Linked DNA regions of Homo sapiens: region 2 is linked to region 1. The links are contacts of gene promoters, found by promoter capture Hi-C in human tissues and cell types (Jung and others, 2019). All regions are on one chromosome and are shown on one strand. The core of a region is centred on a gene start or on the middle of the fragment in contact, and the rest is flanking DNA. Distances in the headings are between cores, read along the strand shown.

The links. Contacts are between HindIII fragments. The study calls those that stand out against the background at their distance.
Region 2: a contact is called between a fragment that was not itself captured here and the fragment with the promoter of TSKS in region 1, in 2 of the 25 tissues and cell types used here (lymphoblastoid cells and spleen).

Annotation. Positions count from the first base shown.
Region 1 is chr19:49,762,056-49,765,477 of GRCh38, reverse strand. TSKS (testis specific serine kinase substrate) reads left to right here and starts at 2,172. Exons shown (of 11, transcript NM_021733.2): 1 at 2,172-2,400; 2 at 3,246-3,422. The coding sequence starts at 2,231. It also overlaps the pseudogene RNU6-841P. RefSeq lists an enhancer at 3,419-3,422. The HindIII fragment of the contact is 39,317 bases long and covers 1-3,422 here.
Region 2 is chr19:50,004,888-50,010,554 of GRCh38, reverse strand. It overlaps VRK3 (VRK serine/threonine kinase 3), which reads left to right. Exons shown (of 15, transcript NM_016440.4): 4 at 1,170-1,319; 5 at 2,729-2,986. Among named protein-coding and RNA genes, the nearest start is that of VRK3, 18 kb to the left of the region's middle. The HindIII fragment of the contact is 3,791 bases long and covers 598-4,388 here.

The DNA of each region.
Region 1 (3,422 bases), core at 923-3,422:
CCCCTGAAGAACATAAAGCAGCCCCATTAAACACAAGAAAAATTATTAATCCCAGGACTTGAAGTTCTTTTTTTTTTTTTTTGAGATGGAGTCTCGCTCTGTCGCCCAGGCTGGGGTGCAGTGGCGCGATCTCAGCTCACTGCAACCTCCGCCTCCCGGGTTCACGCCATTCTCCTGCCTCAGCCTCCCAAGTAGCTGGGACTACAGGCGCACGCCACCATGCCTGGCTAATTTTTTGTGTTTTTAGTAGAGACGGGGTTTCACCGTGTTAGCCAGGATGGTCTCGATCTCCTGACCTTGTGATCCGCCCACCTCGGCCTCCCAAAGTGCTGGAATTACAGGCGTGAGCCACTGCGCCCGGCCTTTTTTTTTTTTCTTTTTTTTGAGACAGAGTCTCTCTCTGTCCCCCAGGCTGGAGTTCAGTGACTCAATCTCGGCTCACTGTAACCTCTTCCTCCCGAGTTAAAGCGATTTTCCTGCCTCAGCCTCCTAAGTAGCTGGGATTACAGGCACCCGTCATCATGCTCGCCTAATTTTTGTATTTTTGTAGAGACAGTGTTTCACTATGTTGGCCAGGCTGGTCTTGAACTCCTAACCTCAGGTGATCCGCCCGCCTCGGCCTCCCAAAGTGCTGGGATTACAGGTGTGAGACACCGCGCCCAGCCAGGAGTTCTTTATTATAGAAAGATTAAGTGTTCCAAGAACTGGAGTCCATTCATGACCAGGAAGAAGTACTTTCTCCCTGGGGATAACAGCATTTAAAATGTCTATTAGCAGTGATGTTTGAACTAGTCTTTTTGAGAAGTGTGAAGAGAACAGGAAAAGTCTGTCCCTAAATAGCAGGGCAGTGCTCGCTTCGACAGCACATGTATTAACATTGGAACGATACAGAGAAGATTAGCATGGGCCCTGCGCAAAGACCACATGCAAATTTGTGACATGTTCCATATATTTTTTAAATACTTTGGGCGGGCGGGGCGCAGTGGCTCACACCTGTAATTCCAATGCTTTGGGAGGCTGAAGTGGGCAGATCACGAGGTCAGGAGTTGGAGACTAGCCTAGCCAACACAGTGAAACCCTGTCTCTACTAAAAATACAAAAAAAAAATTAGATGGGTGTGGTGGCAGGTACCTGTAGTCCCAGCTACTCAGGAGGCTGAGGCAGGAGAATCGCTTGAAACTGGGAGGTAGAGGTTGCAATGAGCCAAGATCACGCCACTGCACTCCAGCCTGGGTGTCAGAGCGAGACTCCATCTAAAAAAAAAAAAAAAAAATTATAGCGGAGCATGGTGGCTCATGTCTGTAATCCCACACTTTGGGAGGCTAAGGCGGGTGGACCATTTGAGGTCGGGAGTTTGAGACCAACTTGGCCAACATGGTGAAACCCGTCTCTACTAAAAATACAAAAATTAGCCGGACATTGTGGCCAGCGCCTGTAGTCCCAGCTACTGGGGAGGCTGAGGCAGGAGAATCGGTTGAACCCCGGGAGGTGGAGGTTGCAATGAGCTGAGATCGCGCCACTGAACTCCAGCCTCCATGACAGAGAGAGACTCTGTCTCAAAAAAAATAAAAAGTATTAAAGAAAATAATAAATAAATAAACGGGGGAGGGGGATACCACCCTCTGTCCTGCCCCAACTCTCTACCTTCCTCTCCTCCCTCACCTTCTACCCTGACCCCGAGGCCCACCGCACCTAGCTTTCTTTTGTTGATCTACCTGTATATTGCCTTTCCCCCGACCCCGACGCCCCATAGAATATGAGACCCTCCAGGTCAGGGTCTGGATCTCAGCCCTCTTCGACCACAGTCTCTCAAACCCCAGCCAATTGTCAAATCCAGGAAGCTACATGAAGAATCAAGAACAAGTGCACAGGGCTGTGTGACCCCACGCTTAGTCTCAGGGAGAGGGAAGTTGGACCTCTCCCAAGAATCCGTGGGCCGACCCATTGTTAAGTTACAGGCTAGCATGAATCCATCCACTGGAGCTCTGAAGACGGGGGGCACATTGGGCATGTAACTAGAATCCTGAACAGGAGGAGTCCACTGAGAACCCTAGGGGAATGACCTGGGCCAGCATCTCTCCCTACCCTGTGCCCCCCACTCACTGGGGCCCAGTGGTTGGGTCCTTTGTGAGGCAGGCTGAGGGGACAGTGGATCCTGAGGGTCTGTGGTCACAGTAGGTAGGAAGTCTCAGAGGAAGGAGCCCCTCCCTGGGAGCCAGACCCCCACACCATGGCGAGCGTGGTGGTGAAGACGATCTGGCAGTCCAAAGAGATCCATGAGGCCGGGGACACCCCCACGGGGGTGGAGAGCTGCTCCCAGCTAGTCCCAGAGGCTCCCCGGAGGGTGACCAGCCGGGCCAAGGGGATCCCGAAGAAAAAGAAGGCCGTGTCGTTCCACGGGTGGGTTTGTTGCACACTGTCAGGGATGGTTCTAATGCCCAGCACTACCTCCAACAGAGCAGGAGTCCGACTGTGGGTGCTAGAGGAAGGGGAGGGGGAAAAGCCAGCAGGTCGGGGGCAGGAAAGAGGGCAGCAGTGAAGAGACATCAAGTCACAGGGAGGTAGAGAGGAAGAAGGTAATGGGGATGGATGGAGGGAGGAAGAAGGTAATGGGGATGGATGGAGAGAGGAAAAAGCCAGTGGGGAGGGAAGAAGGAGAAGGGAGGCTAGTGAATGAAGAAGAAAGTAGGTGGCAGAGAAGGGAGGAGAAAGTAGGCAGCGGGGAAGGAGAAGAAGAAAGTAGACAGTGGTGGTCGGGCACGGTGGCTCACGCCTGTAATCCCAGCACTTTGGGAGGCCGAGGCAGGTGGATCATGAGGTCAGGAGTTCAAAACCAGCTTGGCCAACATGGTGAAAAGCCATCTCTACTAAAAATACTAAAATTAGCTGGGCGTGATGGCACATGCCTATAACCCCAGCTACTCAGGAGGCTGAGGCAGGAGAATTGCTTGAACTGGGACCCGCAGTCGGAGGTTGCAGTGAGCTGAGATCGCGCCACTGCACTCCAGCCTGGGCAACAGAGTGAGACTCTGTCTCAAAAAAAAAAAAAAAAGAAAGAAAGAAAAAAGAAAGAAAGTAGGCAGCACAGGGAAGGAGAATAAAGTAGGCAGCGGGGACAGAGAAGGGAGAAACTTATATACAGTGAGGGTGGAGTCACAGGGGGTGAGGTATGGAGAAAGGAAGGCAGGAGGGCCCAGACACCCTGGGGCTGCTTCTCCACTTTTCTGCCTGTTTCTTCTCTGCAGGGTGGAGCCCCAGATGTCCCATCAGCCCATGCACTGGTGCCTGAACCTCAAACGGTCCTCGGCCTGCACCAACGTGTCACTGCTCAACCTGGCCGCCATGGAGCCCACTGACTCCACGGGGACAGACTCCACAGTGGAAGACCTCAGCGGCCAACTCACACTGGCTGGGCCCCCTGC
Region 2 (5,667 bases), core at 1,244-3,743, 240 kb before region 1:
CCCAAAATGCAAGCTGAACATTTAACTTAAAGTGGTGAGATGTGGGTACCACTCCCTGCCTGATATAAACAAATCTTCTCTTGGAAAACATCCTTTAAAGACAAACATCAGGGAATTACCACAGGTCAACATCCAAGGATCATGAGTACCAGTCTCTGTTGATTTACAAAGACACCAGGAAATAAGCTAGCTGGAGAGTCAGCAGAAACAACAAACTGCAGAATCGGACCTGCCAAGACCACAGACTTTAGAATTAATAGATGAGAATGTTTACAAAGCATGCTTAATACATTTAAATAAATAAAATAACAAATTGAAAGTATAATGAAGGAATAGGTTAAAGTTGCACAGGCAAATAAGAGAAGGAACCAAATAAAAACTCTAATGATTGTATGTGTGTATATGTATATGTGTGTGTCTATATATGTATATATGTGTATGTGTGTATATATATACACACAATCATTGTATGTGTGTATATGTGTGTGTGTGTGTATATATATATAAAATAATTATTGTAATCAGAAACTCGGTGGGTGGTTTAAACAGCAGACTAGACATAGCTGGGAGAATTAGTTAACTGGAAGATAGATTTTAAGAAATTACATGGAAGAGGCCAGGCATGGTGGCTCATGCCTGTAATCCCAGCACTTTGGAAGGCTGAGGCTGGCCGATCACTTGAGGTCAGGAGTTCAAAACCAGTCTGGCCAACATGGTGAAACCCCATCTCTACTAAAACTATAAAAATTAGCAACATTACAGGCATGTTGGTGCATGCCTGTAATCCTAGCTACTTGGGAGGCTGAGGCAGGAGAATTGCTTGAACCCAGGAGGCAGAGGTTGCAGTGAGCCAAGATTGCACCACTGCACTCCAGCCTGGGCAACAGAGTGAGACTCCATCTCAAATATACATACATATAAAGACATTATGTGGAAAGGACACAGAGTGGCAAAGTGCTGGAAGATACAAGAGAGGCAAAGACCTAAGAAGGAGAGAACAACTAAAAGGAACAGTTTGCTCATATATTTACATAATAGAAGAAGCAAGAATTGGTGTTGAGGGCCAAAGAGAACAGCATAGCTGAGTATAACCTCAGGGCTCCCAGTCCAATGGTGCCTGCAGAGGGGCCTTTGTAACTCCAGTCTGCATTTTGTCTGCCTTTCTTTAGGCTCAAAGAGAGGGCTGAACTCCAGTTTTGAAACCTCTCCTAAGAAAGTGAAATGGTCCAGCACCGTCACCTCTCCCCGATTATCCCTCTTCTCAGATGGTGACAGTTCTGAGTCTGAAGATACTCTGAGTTCCTCTGAGAGATCCAAAGGTAAGAGTTAAGGTCTATCTGGCCTGACTCTTAAGTGGAGCAAAGTTAGGTCATCTGATGATCTTTGGGACAAAACTGCCACAGCCCCGGCTCAAACATCATCCATCCCTGCCTGGACTCTGACTCCAGCAGCTTCCCCAGCCTCCCATCTCCCCCTCCAGTCTGCCTCTATATGGCCCCAGATGGGTCTTTCAGCACCTAGAGCTGCCCCGGCCCCTCCCTGCACACAGACCCCTACTGTTCCTGGTGCCCTCAGACCAAGCTCTTCAGTCTGGTATCTGTGTGGCCTGGTTCCTGCTTTAGCCCTCAACACAGTCTTTGCCCAGAAAACACTTTTGGGGATTAACCTTGGTCTTTGCTAAGCCTGTTCCCTCAGCCCAGGGCACTCTCACCTTCGTTCTTGGCCTTGTGTACTGCCACTCAGCCGATACTGGTCTCTAGGAAGCTTCTCTTGAGTGCCATAGGCTCGCATCCAGACCTCCTCATCGTCCGCCAGAGCCTCTTTCCAGCCTCTTTGGCGCCCCCCCGTGCCTGCTGCAGCCTTCATTGGAGCGCATGTCAGTCTAGGCTCCACATCCCTTTCGGCCTCACTTTCTGGGCTGGGGGCCCTTTGCAGGTAGGGACCCAGCACAATTAGTGTATATACCCTCTGCCCAGCCAGTGCCCAGGACACGGGAGGCCTGAGGACTATGTTCCTTCTCCTGTTCACTGAGCCCCTGGATCTGAAGCCACAGCCACAGTGGCAGTGTGAGGCGTCCCCTTTGCTCCTCATTATCCTCTGGGCCCAGAGGCCTCTTGCCATTACTTGCCTTTAGGGGATGGTGGGTGGGAGGAACAGAGTAAGCGATGTCTTTTCCTGTGTCCAAGTCTGTCTCCCACCACACCCACCCCATTCTCTTGCCAGGCTAGGAGCCCTTCTAGGGCAGGGCTTTGGTCTAACAAATTTTTTGGCCCTTTTCTATCTCAGGACTGAGTCCTTTTTCAGGATGTTTTTGGGTAAATGTCTAGAATGTCCTTTATTCCCTGGCAAACTTCTCCTCATCCAACAAGATCCAACTCTAACATCCCTTCCTCCAGGAAGCCTACCCTGACTTCTCCAGGCAGGATCTCTTTCTCTTTTGGGCCCTAATATCTGTCTGTACTGCCCTGTCTCAGACCCGCATCTGACTAGCTGTGTCTAGAGCAGACTTGCCCACCAAACTGGGCACTCCTGAGGGAAGGATGCAGGTCCGACTCCTATCTGGTGCCCCAACATCATCACACAAAGGCCTGACTCATAGAAGGTCCCAGGAAATGTTTGTTGAATGAACGAATTTGTAAAGGAACAGTATTTTGCGTGCTGTTTCACTCCCCATCTAACTTTTCTCTCCTGGATGGTGCTTTTACTTTATTCTTACATCCTCCTGCAGGCTCCGGGAGCAGACCCCCAACCCCCAAAAGCAGCCCTCAGAAGACCAGGAAGAGCCCTCAGGTGACCAGGGGTAGCCCTCAGAAGACCAGCTGTAGCCCTCAGAAGACCAGGCAGAGCCCTCAGACGCTGAAGCGGAGCCGAGTGACCACCTCACTTGAAGCTTTGCCCACAGGGACAGTGCTGACAGACAAGAGTGGGCGACAGTGGAAGCTGAAGTCCTTCCAGACCAGGGACAACCAGGGCATTCTCTATGAAGGTACACTCTGTCCATGGGCGGCCAGGGACTGGGTCGTCTCAGCACCAGGACAGTGGGAGGGGACCCCGTTCTGAGAATGGGAATGGAAGCCACATCCCTAGCTGCAGACCTGTCGCTAGGCAACTTTCTCTTAGACCTTGGACTCTATACCTACCCACCTGCAGGGCCGGGCAATAGTGGGAATGAGTGCAGCAGGCTGGAGTAAGGCAGTTGGGAGTGGCGGGGACTGCGGCCAGTTGGCATGTGCCCTGTGTGAAGTGTGCCCCTCCTCACCCCACCTGCTACCTGCTATTGTCACGTGGGAGTGCAGGCCCAGGGGCTGCATGTTAAGGATGGTTGTTCTGGCCAGTGTGCAGAGAGAGGATGGATCCCCACGTAAAATTTGGTTCAAACATCGAGACTGATGATGTCACACACACACCAAGAGGATGTGAGAGGTTTATTGCTTACATAATAGGGGTCTCTGTGGAGAGCAGGCAGGCCTCCCACACAGATCTGAGATGCCTTGAGAGTGAGGAAAGGAGACTGGTCAGGTGTTTCATCGTGCTTGGGGGTGGGGCTGGGCTCAGGGTTTCTGCACAGGGGCCAACACCATGCATGGTTTGAGTCTCGTGGATGCACACCCCAAAGGAGGGAGCACCCAAGCTTGCTCATCCGCTCACCCAGGTGTGGGATGGAAGGGGAGGAGGGAGGCACAAGGCTGAAAAGCTCAGACTCTGTTACAATGAGGAAAATAATTATGGCAGTAGTATTAGTATTAACTGTAATAAATATTGAGTGCTTCTGCAAGGCCAGGCCTGTTCTAAGCACTTTACATGGGTTTTTCTTTTCCTTTCTTTTCTTTTTGGAACTTTTTAATTGAGATAAAACTCACATAAAAGTTATTCTTTTATTGGCCAGGCGCGGTGGCTCACGCCTGTAATCCCAGCACTTTGGGAGGCCGAGACAGGCGGATCACGAGGTCAGGAGATCGAGACCATCCTGGCTAACGCGGTGAAACCCTGTCTCTACTAAAAATACAAAAAATTAGCCGGGTGTGGTGGCTGGCACCTGTAGTCCCAGCTACTTGGGAGGCTGAGGCAGGAGAATGGCGTGAACCCGGGAGGCAGAGCTTGCAGTGAGCCGAGGTTGCACCACTGCACTCCATCCTGGGTGACAGAGCGAGACTCCGTCTCAAAAAAAAAAATTATTCAGTGAGACTCCATGTCAAACAAAAAGTTATTCTTTTATTATTATTATTTATTATTTTTTATTTTTTTGAGAGAGAGTCTTGCTCTGTCACCCAGGCTGGAGTGCAGTGGCACGATCTCGGCTTTTAACAACCTCCACCTCCTAGGTTCAAGCGATTCTCCTGCCTCAGCCTCTCAAGTAGCTGAGATTACAAGCGCATGCCACCACACCGGGCTAAATTTTTTTATTTTTTTATTTTTATTTTTTGTATTTTTAGTAGAGACAGGGTGTTACCATGTTGGCCAGGCTGGTCTCGAACAGCTGACCTCAAGTGATCCACCTACCTCAGCCTCCCAAAGTGCTGGGATTACAGGCATGAGCCACCACGAAAATTCATTCTTTTAAAGGGTGCAACTGAGTGGCCTTCAGGATATTCAGAGTGTTATGCAACCATCGTCACTATCTAATTCCAGGACGTTTCTGTCACCCCAAAAAGAAACCCAGTAGTTCTGAGCCATCACTCTGATTCTTCCCCCAGTCCACTGGCAGCCACTAACCGCCTTTCTCCCTCCGTGGATTTGCCCCTTCTGGGTGTTCACAGAAGTGGAGTCCTGCGCTGTGTGGCCTCTTGTGTCTGGCATCCCTCACCCAGCGGCGTGTGCTCAAGGTGCATCCATGCTGTGGCGCGTCACTGCCGCACTCCTTTTATGGCTGCGTGATATTCTGCTGTATGGGAACACCCCATGTGGCTTAGCCACTTAGCAGCTGATGGGCGTTTGGGTAGTTTCCGCTTTGGGCTGTTATGAGTAACGCTGCCATGAATATTTGCTTACAAGTTATTTGATGGGCAGAGGTTTGCTAAATTCTCACCGCAGCCTTAGGATGTCAGTACTATCCCTATCCCCATTTTATACATGAGGAACATGGATCCCAGAGATGTGAATTATTAGGCTCTGGGCTCCAGAATCTTCCAAGTTTTCCAGGAAAAGCTTGAAACCTAGATTTCAATAGGAAATCTTTGAATTGGAAGTGCCTGCTGGCCAGACAGGCACGTAGACAATTTTGAGCCTTCCGTTGGCCATCCCTGCCTTGAAGTCTGGGCAGGTGGGCAGGACAGCTGGTGTTTCAGACAGCCCCGAATCTGAGTCCTGACTTGGCTCCGACACACTGAGGGAGCCCCAGCAAACAGCCCAGGCACTCTGTGCCTTGATGTCCTCCACTGGAAAAGTGAGATGACGCCTTGTCCCCTGTCTCCTGGGGCTGTTGGCTCAAATGATGATAGGAGATGGAGGCCAAGCACTTGGAAAACTGTACAGGGTCCTTCCCAGGCAGAGGTAGGCAGTGTTAATAACAGAGGGACAGATAGGCAGGGCCAGGAAAGGTGAGGGAGAGGGGAAAGAGTGTGACCAAGACCAAGCAGGAGCAAGAGAAAGAGGGCCGTGGCTAACACCTAGGGAGCACTCACCTGTGCCAGCACTTTTATTTTTAAGAGATGGAGTCTCGCTCCATCA